Linked DNA regions of Homo sapiens: all the other regions are linked to region 3. Evidence: promoter capture Hi-C in 16 types of primary human blood cells and fetal thymus (Javierre and others, 2016). All regions are on one chromosome and are shown on one strand. Each heading gives the region's core, a stretch centred on a gene start or on the middle of the fragment in contact. The rest is flanking DNA. Distances are from core to core; before and after follow the strand shown. Region 1 has its middle 16 kb from the start of MIR3658. Region 2 has its middle 35 kb from the start of MIR3658. Region 3 holds the start of LRRC52-AS1 (LRRC52 antisense RNA 1). Region 4 overlaps UCK2 (uridine-cytidine kinase 2).

Region 1 (2,700 bases), core at 62-2,561, 340 kb before region 3:
TTTTCAAAAGTACTTTGATCTTCATTACTTTGCTTAAATCTGACACAATCCTATGAGGTAGAAAGGACTTGATATTATCATCCCTAAATAAAGAGATTAAAGATTAGAGAGTGGTTAGTCCAGGGTTATGCAAATAGTCTACTGCAAAGCCTGGGTGGTCTCTGGCAGGCAACAGTAAAGCCATATGCACATGAAACAGGTGTATGAAGAGGTGGGTGAGACTGAGACTGAGAGGGTGGATGGTGCAGGTCCTGTAAGTTTCCTTCTCACAGACTGACCAATCTGAGTTCTACAGGAAAGCCACCCACAGTTCCTCCTTGTTGAGACCCCCTAGATCTAGGAGTTGGGATTGTACCTCTTTGTGCACATTCCATTCTGCCTTGTACAAGAGTTGTGTCTATATGTGAGGGGCCACTGGCCATTTATGAGGTCCTGGAAGGCAGGGAGGGCTTGGCACAGTACCTGGCACATGATAGGTGCTCTCTAGTGTGTTTGAATTGACCGTCCTCCAGCTGTTCTGAAGGTTAAAACAGGACTTTGCTGTGCTGTGGCTCATTCTCACCCTCTAGTGGCCACTTTTAAGAATAACGGACCACAGATGGAGCTGAGCTTCCAAAGCCAATCAGGAGGCACTGCCATGCCTAGGCCACAGTCCACCTTCTGGTCAGGAGAAACTCAGTTATCAATGGAACTCTTTAAAAATACATGTGCATCTCGGGCCGGGCGCGGCGGCTCACGCCTGTAATCCCAGCACTTTGGGAGGCCGAGGCGAGTGGATCACGAGGTCAAGAGATCGAGACCATCCTGGCGAACATGGTGAAACCCCGTCTCAACTAAAAATACAAAAATTAGCTGGGCGTGGTGGTGCGCGCCTGTAATCCCAGCTACTCGGGAGGCTGAGGCACGAGAATCGCTTGAACCCGGGAGGCGGAGCTTGCAGCGAGCCGAGATTGCACCACTGCACTCCAGCCTGGCGGCAGAGCGAGACTGCATCTCAAAAAAAAAAAAAAACAAAACAAAAAAACGTGTGCATCTCTGCTAGCGAGGCGTCTGGCTCTAAAGCAAAAGTCAAATAAGGAAATCAGCCAACTGTTTATCAGGCACTGACTACGTGGCAAGTACCCTGCCAGGACACATGAGATACAGGAAACACAGTTGCTGACCGTAAAGGAGCCCACAATTTAATGTGAAGTAACACTCCACCGCCCAGGCATCCCAGCATGCTTCACATACAAAGAACAATGGAAGTTTTAGAACTCCAAGCAACATTTGATGCTGTGAACAAAGCAGAATTTCTCTGGAGGAGAAAGTTTGAAAAAACCAATGAGACACTTTTTTTTTTTTCATTATCATGGTTCAGATAACCAGAAAACCTTCCTGCTACAAAATACCTACAAGTTCCACATAAAATACAAAAAAGATAATAATAATGAAGTCCTGCTTAATGCATAGCTGAGCATATAAGAAAATGACATTAGACAAGGGCCAAGAATAGCAATTTAAAACATTAGTATAAAACACAATCAAAAATCAACAAGCAGATTTGGACTATAATGAAATGGTTTTTCTAAAAGCCAAAAATATGGTCACTGAAATTAAAAACTTGGTAAGTTTTAAACAGCAAACTAAACATGGGTGAAGAGCGAGTAACTAAATTGGAAATGATCTAAGGAGCTTAGCTACAATGTAGCTTGAGAGATAAAAAGATTAAAAATAAGGCAGGGCACAGTGGTACATATCAATAATCCCATCACTTTGGGAGGACAAGATGGGTAAATCGCTTGAGTCCAGGAGTTCGAGACCAGCCTGGGCAACATAGTGAAACCCCATCTCTACAAAAAATACAAAAATTAACCGGTCATGGCGGCTCACGCCTGTGGTCCCAGCTACTTAGGAGGCTGAGGTGGGAGGATCACTTGAGCCCAGGAGGTTGAGGCTGCAGCAAGCCATGATCACTCTACTGCATTTCAGCCTGGGCTATAGAGTGAGACCCTGTCTCAAACAAACAAACAAACAAAAAACAGATTAAAAATAAAATAAGAGAGTAAGAGACTTAGAAGAAAGAGCAAAAGGTCCTATGTACATGGAACCACAGATCAAAAGATAGAAAACAGAGAGAAAAGTGAGAAGGCAACATTAGAAAAGATAATAGCTATAAATTTTCTAGAATAGATGAAACACATAGAACTCGCCTTCAGGAAGCACATGCCCTAAGTAGGGTAAATAAAAATAAATCCACATTTCAACACATCATAAGAAATTGCAAAACATCAAAGAGAAATCTTTTTAAAAGACAGAAAACAGAAGACCAATCTATCCAAAATGTTGAGAGAAACAGCTAAATTATAACTCAAGAATGAGGGTAAAAAAAGGCATTTTCCAACAAAGAGTGTCCCACTAATAATTCTGACAAATAATTATGAAAAAAATGTGTGTTATGAAGAAAACTGAATCCATAACCAAGATTGACAATGCAAAATAAAATAGTGAACAAAGTCATTAGTAATAATCTGGGAAAATCTAAATGAGCACTGACAGGATAAAACAGTAATCGTAACTAATGTCAAGAATATAAAAGCAAGGTGGAACTATAATACTTAACATCAATAACATGTAAGATAGACAGAGTGGTCAGAGTTTAAGCTTTCAAAGCTTTCATATTGTTTAGGAAGAGGAGAGAAATACTGATTAAATTCAGAT
Region 2 (2,700 bases), core at 153-2,652, 360 kb before region 3:
TCGGCTCACTGCAAGCTCCACCTCCTGAGTTCATGCCATTCTCCTGCCTCAGCCTCCCGAGTAGCTGGGACTACAGGCACCTGCCATCACGCCCGGCTAATTTTTTGTTTTTGTTTTTGTTTTTTCAGTAGAGACGGGATTTCACTGTGTTAGCCAGGATGGTCTCGATCTCCTGACCTCGTGATCCACCCTCCTCTGCCTCCCAAAGTGCTGGGATTACAGGTGTGAGCCACTGCGACCGGCCTCTCCTGCCTAATTCTAAGCATACCCCTCTTCCGTCTTTCTGTGTCCTTGCATCATTTTTATCTTATGACAAGCAGTACACAGAGGGAATTGCAATAAGCACATCCACAATACCAAGGACTACTTATTAGTAAACATGTTTGGTTTTGTCATTGTCTTATTTTTATCTTAATCAGTGTGAATGTTACTTACTCCAACTTCCCAGAATCTTCACCCGACCCTCAGCAGATAGGGACCTGAAGGATTAGGCTTTTCTCCCCCTGAACACACTTCCAGGAAACTTTTCAAACAGCCACATACACAGCTAAGCAACTCAGTATTTGTGAATGCTTTTTCTGACCTTCTCTTTTTCTTTCATTTAACTACTTTAGGGGATGTTTCTGGCCACCTAGAGGGAACTCTGAGTAACAAACAGATCTCCATGTGGTTGTTTTTCCTGAGCCAGATGCATGTAACACCTGGCAGCTGAGTCATTTGGGGAAAACAGCTTCTTGTCACACCTCTCTGATTCCACCAGCCCAGGGAATCACTGGAGAATCCAGAAACAGTGGCATGGAGCTAGGCATTGCCAACTCTTACTTTTCACAGAACTATGGGGAGTGTGAAATGCTGCAATCCTTCTTTTCCTTTTGTATAGCTTCTTGGTTTCATCTCAGAAGAACAAGATGGGAATGCATTCCTTTCATTTGTTAATATTTTATTAATGTGCAACTCTACATACATAATGCACATCATGCTATTCCTATGCCAAAAAGAAACCCCGAGTGTCTCCTCACTGCCAGTAAATTAAGCCCAACATCTTTTCAAGTTTCAAACAAGCTAAACCTGGTATATTTTTCTAATTCTATTTTGTAGTGTGTAGAGTGCTGTAATCTAGGCAAATCGACCACCATCCGCTTTCTCTTTTGCCCCAGACTGTCCCTCTTTTACGATTTTGCTCATGCCATCCCCTCCACCTCAAGTGTCCTCTCATCCTGTTGTGGTGACCATGTACCCAGCCATCCTTCTGGAGTCAGGACGACCCCAACCAACTCAGGGCTCACCTTCTTCTCAACCCCCATAGCACCTTGGGGGTGCCTCGCTTACTCCATTTTACATTCTGCTTTGTATTGCAGTTTTGACGAGTCTGTCTCTTCCACTGTGTTAAAAGTTTCCTGAGGGGAGGGAAGGTGGCATAGTCACTTTTGCTACTGACAGTATCTCCTACGTACCAGGGATTCAAAAATGTTCACCTGAATGAATGTTAAATGAGAAGAGAATTAAATGGCATGGCAGTCATTTCTCTTGGGCATCAAGCATCCCCCAAGTGAAACTAAATTTGCCTTCTTGCAAGTGCTTATTTAGTGCCTGTGAAGCTCTTGCATTTAGTTCCCCAGGTCGAAGTCCTGACCAGCTAGTGTAGTGCTCATGGAATTGACTGATCAATGCCTAAGGGATTAGAAGAACTCCATTCAAGACACACTGACTCTTCTCTTACTAATTATCTTCAGTGTCTCCTGAACAAATTGCTCTGTAATCAGTAACTTCATCCTCTGCACAGAGCCTGGGCTTAACTTAAGATGTCTGAAAAACAGCTTTGTCCTCTCCCACCTCCAACAGGGATAAGAGGGCGGTAAGCAGGCCTGAGAATGGGGCCTTAACACTAAGTGGGTTTAACATACAGACAGGAAGGCTCAAGAGCTCAAAGGACCCTTCACGACTATCTAGCCCAATACTCTCATTTTATTAGGTTGCTGCAAAAGTAATTGCTGTAATACACACTAGGAAAATGCAGACGGAGGAAGGGGGCCACTTCCCCAAGGTTATGTGGTTCCTTAAAGGTAGAACTAGAACTGGAACTCTGGAGGCCTGATTCCCAAGACCGCGCTACCATTAATTACACAGGTATTTTCCCTAATCCACCTCAGCACGCAAATCAGCTGGTGTTTTTGTTAAGAAGAAAGAATCATGAAGACTTTGTTCTGCGGGATTATCGGAGTCAAGGAATACAGGCTAAATAAGTGGCAAGTTTCATGCTTAGACGTTCCCGCCCCTCAGCCTGGCCCGGGTTCCCCCTACATCCTGGCTGCCACTGCCTGGGTGCCCATCTGCTGCCCTCGAGGAGCTGGGCCGTGGGCAGGGAGGCGCCCCAGCGCTGCGCGTGACGTTTCCACATGTCTGCTCGGTGGCCTGAGCCTCCTGCAGCCACTGACCCAGCTGCACCTCCCAGTGTTCCTGGCATCTCCCGCTCTGCCCCCTCAACTTCGGCCTCGGCGGCGTGGAGAGCTCGTGCTGGCCCTTGCTCGCTCAAATCTCCTCCAAGGACCTCATGGTCCCGAAAATGCTTTCATTGTGCTACTTGGTCGCATGCGCCTCGCCGCATTCTCCGGCTGACCGAGAAGCACACGAAGGCAAGTCCCAGGCTGGAACAGCGGCTCTGCATGGTCGGCACATCGCCTTCTCAGCACTGGCTGTCTA
Region 3 (2,700 bases), core at 26-2,525:
CACACATATATGTATATTTTACAGTTGGAATATATACACATATATGTATATATACACATATACATATATGTATGTATGTATGTGTATATATGTATGTATGTGTATATATGTATGTATGTGTGTATATGTATACGTATATACATATATGTGTGTATATGTATACGTATATACATATATGTGTGTATATGTATACGTATATACAATGTATGTATATATGTATACATATACATACATATATACATGCATGTATGTATATGTGTATATATACATACATATACACATACATACACATATATGTGTATATGTATACACATACATACACATATATGTGTATATGTATACACATACATACACATATATGTGTATATGTATACACATACATACACATATATGTGTATATGTATACACATACATACACATATATGTGTATATGTATACACATACATACACATATATGTGTATATGTATACACATACATACACATATATGTGTATATGTATACACATACATACACATATATGTGTATATGTATACACATATACATATGTGTATACGTATACACGTATATATGTATACACACATACATACGTATAGATGTATACACACACATACATACGTATAGATGTATACACACATACATACGTATATATGTATACACACACATACGTATATATGTATACACACATACATACGTATATATGTATACACACACATATACGTATATATGTATATAGACACATATACGTATATATGTATATATACACACATATATACGTATATATGTATATATACACACATATATACGTATATATGTATATATACACACATATATACATATATATAATGTATATACACACACATATATACATATATAATATGTATATATACACACACATATATGTATGTATATTTTACAGGCTTAATTAACTTTCTTTTTCTTGTATAAAAACCCTATGTTGTAGCTACAGCTGGAGCCTGGGTCCTCTGCACGGAGACTCTGGTGTGGGTCTTGGCGAGGTGGTCAGTGAATTCTTGATAGGGACACTTGGTGAATACAGCCGTCCTCCAGAGGTCAGGGGTCAGGTAGCTGTAGGTCTTAGAGATGGCATCAAAGGTGGCCTTGGCGAAGTTGCTCAGAGTGGCAGTGCAGCCCCTGGCTGAGGTGTAGCAGTCATCGATACCAGCCATCATGAGCAACTTCTTGGGCACAGGCGCCGAGACGATACCGGTGCCTCTGGGCACGCGGATGAGGCGCACGAGCACGGAGCCGCAGCAGCCCGTCACCTTGCAACGGATGGTGTAGGGCTTGCCGATCTTGTTCCCCTAGTAACCTCTGCGCATGGGGACAATGGAGAGCTAGGCCAGGATGATGGCCCTGTGGATGGCAGTGGCCACCTCCTTGGAGCACTTAACACCCAGACCGACGTGACCGTTGTAGCCCGCAATGGCCACAAACGCCTTGAACCTGGTTCGCTGGCCGGCTCCGGTCTGCTTCTGCACCGGCATAATCTTCAAAACCTAGGCCTCGAGAGAGGCCCCCCAGGAAAAAATCAATGATCTCAGATTCCGTGATGGGCAGGGAGAAGAGACAGATCTCCTCCAGGGAAGTGATCTTCATGTGCTTGACCAGGCAGCCCAGCTTGCTGACGGGCATCCACTCCTTATCCTTGGCCTTGCCTCCGCGAGCTCCGTGGCTTCGGCCCCAGCCTGGTCCACGGCAGTGACCCCGGCCTCGGATGCCACTGCCGAAACCTCCACGGAAGCCACCATGGTTCCCCATCCCAGGGCCCCGGGGCCTCCGGGACTCCCCCCGCAACCCAATGCCGGCTGCGCCGGCGTCATCCGCCATTTGGTGTTTTCTCGGAGAAGAAGCTACATGTGGAATATATTAACGCAACAAATTGTGCGTACTTGCTAGACATTAGGCATGATAGCAAGTGCTAGGGTTACAAAGTATTGCTTTTTGGGGAACCCATGGTTGTTGGGGAGAAACCAGAAGATCAGTCATCACAGTGCGGCAAGATCAGACTTGTGGTTTGTTCAGGTTCTGGGAGCCGTCACTGCAGTGAGAATGGGTGAGTTGGGGCAGGCTGTGGTGTCTGGGAAATTTTAAAATAGAAGTGATACTTGAGCAAGAAGTTGAAGGATGAATATGGATTTATAGAATAAGCAGGGTGTAGAGACATGTGTGCATGTGTGTGTGTATTTCATAAAGAAAGACATGCATGTGCAAAGGCCTGGAGGCTGTTGATGTCAGCAGAATGTTCTGAGGAATGAGTAAGATGAAACAGATGAAACACTTAAAGGCATTTTTTCTCCATTAGTCAAGTCTAGGAGAGGCATTCAATGTCTAATGTCTAACTAGGGTTAGGATTTGAAGAATCTTTCTAAGATGTCTGGTCTTTTTTTTTTTTTCTTTTAGAGATGGGGTTTCACTGTGTTGCCTAAGCAGTGGCTATTCATAGGCACAGTTACAGCACACTGCAGTCTTGAACTCCTGGACTCAAACTATCCTCCTGCCTTGGCCTCCAAAGTAGCTAGGGCTACAGGCACATGTGACTGTGCCTGAGTAAGACGTCCCCTCTCAAAAGTCAGCAAATAAAAGGCAGCTTAGAGAAAGCCATGGTTCCTACCTGATCACCCTCCCAACCATCCTATGAGGATTTTACAGATGAGGACCCTGACGTTCAGTGGGTTTAA
Region 4 (2,700 bases), core at 17-2,516, 290 kb before region 3:
TACGGTATATCCATACAATGGACTATTACTCAGCAATAAAAACGAATGACTGCTGATACAACAACCTGCACGAATCTCCAGAGAATTGTGCTGAGTAAAAAAGGGCAATTCCAAAAGGTTACATACAGTATGGTTATATTTGTATAAAATTGTGGAACGATTAGTGGTGGACCACGGTTAGGGACAGGGAGCAGTGGAGGGGCGGGAAATCCGGGGCAGGTAATAAACAGCAAAACAGCAGTAGCGATGGAAGTGTTCTGTATCTTCACTGTATCAACGTCAACATCCCGGTGTCTTTTGTAATATGGGATCTCTCTGTATTATTTCTTATGTGTTTGTGAACCTACAACTATCTCAAAACAAAATGTTTATCTAAAAAAAAGATTAGCGACTATCCATCTTCTGCCATTTGTCTTTTTATTTATCCCAGAGGTATAGCTTCTCACTTTTCAAAATTCTTAATTTTTCCTCACAAAGCAGTGTTAATAATTAATTGGGATGAGATGAATGCATTCTGCACACAGGACAAATTTTGGGGGGGTCAGTGGACCATTTATAAGTGAGTTACATTGTTGCCCCCCAAAATCTACGATCATATTCTAACTCCCCCAACCTCAAAATATGACCTTATTTGGAAAAAAGGTCTTTGCACATGTAATTAAGTTAAATATCTTGAGATGAGATCATCCTGAATTAGGGTGGGCCCTAAACCCCATGACATGTGTCCTTCTAAGAAACAGAAAAGGTGAAGACACGGAGACATGAGGGAAAGCCATATAAAGGTGAAAGTAGAGACTGGGGTGATACAAGAAATGGCAGCAGAAGCTGGGAGACAGGACGGAGGCATGGGTCTCCTTCAGATCTTCCAGAAGAGGCCAACACTGCCCACACCTAAATTTCAGTCTTACAGCCTCCAGCACTATAAGAGAATGAATCTGTCATTTTAAGTCATCAAGATTGTAGTAATTTGTTACTATAGCCATAGAAAACTAATACACCTGTCACTTTTTTAATGGGTATATTGAATTTCTTTTTTTAAATCACAGAGGATGTACTTTCTTCAACTTTTATTTATGTACACTCCTGTACATACATTGTTTTTATCTCCTTACAGAGGATATATGTCATAAAGATGTATCATTGCATTTTACAAACTTGTCCTGCAGAATTTTTCCTGGTGTTTTCTGTTTGCTCTAATGGTAAACTGTTGCTATCTGGAATATAGGCATGTCTACCTAATCAAATATCCTGGTTAATAATTTATCATACTTACTAAATACTCAGAAGTAAAACTATACTGAGCACAGGACTTAATCTACTGTTTCCTTGGTGACGAAGATGTCACTTCCAGATCCAGTGGTGTGCTTCAGGGTCTTCAAAATGAGTAGCAATTACTAGGCTGCAGATGTGTGAAACTGCCATTTAAGAGAGGTGTTGTGTTTCCATAGAAATGCCCAATAAACTTCTGGGCAAGATAGATTTTAAAAAGCAAGAGGATGAAAACTACCCACCTACTACAATGTCCTAAAAAGCAAAATATAGGTCCTTGTGGTGTTATGATTTATAATGGTTTTCAACCAGGTTCCTGGTCCATAACTCCCACAGCCCTTGTTACAGTCTTTTGTGATAATGTTGGGTCAGGAAACAGAATCTCTTTCCTGCCTTCCTTTCACCTGGCCCGAGGCAGGAATCTAATCTTTCCCCACCTTTCAGATTGTGGGTCTCAAACCCTCCCCTGAGAGGGCTAAGCACTGTAGGAAGGAACGTTTCCAAAAAACCCAAGAAAGCTGGGTACAGGGAGTTTCCGGATAGCTGAACACCTGGAGGTTCCTGGAGGGTGGCACACAAGGGAGGGGTTGGAAACTCCGCACCTCTTTCCCCATGCCTTGCCCTGTGCGTCTCTTCATCTGTGTCCTTTGCAAAATATCCTTTATAATAAACCAGTAAACATAAGTGTTTCCCTGAGTTCTGTGAGCCACTCCAGCAAATTAATCAAACCCTAAGAGGGGGTTATGGGAACCTCGACTTGAAGTCAATCAATCAGAAGTTCCAGAGGCTCAGGTTTGCATGTCTGCAGGGGGCAGGGGCAGTTTTAGAGACTTGAGTTTCCAACCTGTGGGATTTGACACTATCTCCAGGTAAATAGTGTAGCAAGTAAATTGGAGGACACTCAACTGGTGTCTGTGCCTTGCTGTGTGAGGAAATCCCCCCTCTCTCACCACAATCGGTCACAGAAGTCTTCCGTGTTAACTGTTGTGGTGTGAGAGTAAAGGAAAAATGTGGTTTCAGAGAGTTTCCCTACATAGTCCTTTAAAGTCAGGCTGGGCAGGGCACACAGGACCTGGCTTGATTCCTGACTCTAACATACCAGTGATATCTCGGGCAACTCAACCTCTTAGAACACTGGCATCCTTGTTTTAAACTGCAGGTAACCATACCTGTTCCACAAATGGGCCATAAGTGTTAATAAGCTACATGCCTAAGATAGTGGCTAGCACAAACTATATGTTCAATAAAAATTATTCTCTTCTTTAAGATCCACCAAATTTTCATTTAGACAAATCTTTCCAGGAAAGTCCATTAGGAAGCTTTTTTTTTTTTTTTTTGGTAACTCAGTTGAAAACTTCATCAATTCATGCCCATTAGTTTTATTTTCTTCACGTCTATAAAACGGCACAAAACTACATTATCATACTATTA

Evidence for each region. The method cuts DNA at HindIII sites, captures the fragments that hold promoters and counts their contacts. A CHiCAGO score of 5 or more calls a contact.
Region 1: a fragment that was not itself captured here is called in contact with the fragment with the promoter of LRRC52-AS1 in region 3 in 8 of 17 cell types (total CD4 T cells, total CD8 T cells, naive CD8 T cells and 5 more); the score reaches 10.8 in total CD4 T cells.
Region 2: a contact is called between a fragment that was not itself captured here and the fragment with the promoter of LRRC52-AS1 in region 3, in 1 of 17 cell types (total CD4 T cells). The highest score is 5.5, in total CD4 T cells.
Region 4: a fragment that was not itself captured here is called in contact with the fragment with the promoter of LRRC52-AS1 in region 3 in 1 of 17 cell types (total CD4 T cells); the score reaches 6.1 in total CD4 T cells.

What each region holds. Positions count from the first base shown.
Region 1 is chr1:165,922,740-165,925,439 of GRCh38, reverse strand. No RefSeq gene overlaps it. Among named protein-coding and RNA genes, the nearest start is that of MIR3658, 16 kb to the right of the region's middle. The HindIII fragment of the contact is 2,669 bases long and covers 1-2,645 here.
Region 2 is chr1:165,941,382-165,944,081 of GRCh38, reverse strand. It overlaps the pseudogene LOC100420658. Among named protein-coding and RNA genes, the nearest start is that of MIR3658, 35 kb to the right of the region's middle. The HindIII fragment of the contact is 5,185 bases long and covers 1-2,700 here.
Region 3 is chr1:165,580,730-165,583,429 of GRCh38, reverse strand. It overlaps LRRC52-AS1 (LRRC52 antisense RNA 1), which reads left to right and starts at 1,275. Exons shown (of 7, transcript NR_026744.2): 1 at 1,275-2,075. It also overlaps the pseudogene RPS2P10. The HindIII fragment of the contact is 5,029 bases long and covers 1-2,700 here.
Region 4 is chr1:165,874,945-165,877,644 of GRCh38, reverse strand. All of the region lies in intron 1 of UCK2 (uridine-cytidine kinase 2), which reads right to left. Among named protein-coding and RNA genes, the nearest start is that of MIR3658, 32 kb to the left of the region's middle. The HindIII fragment of the contact is 2,649 bases long and covers 1-2,590 here.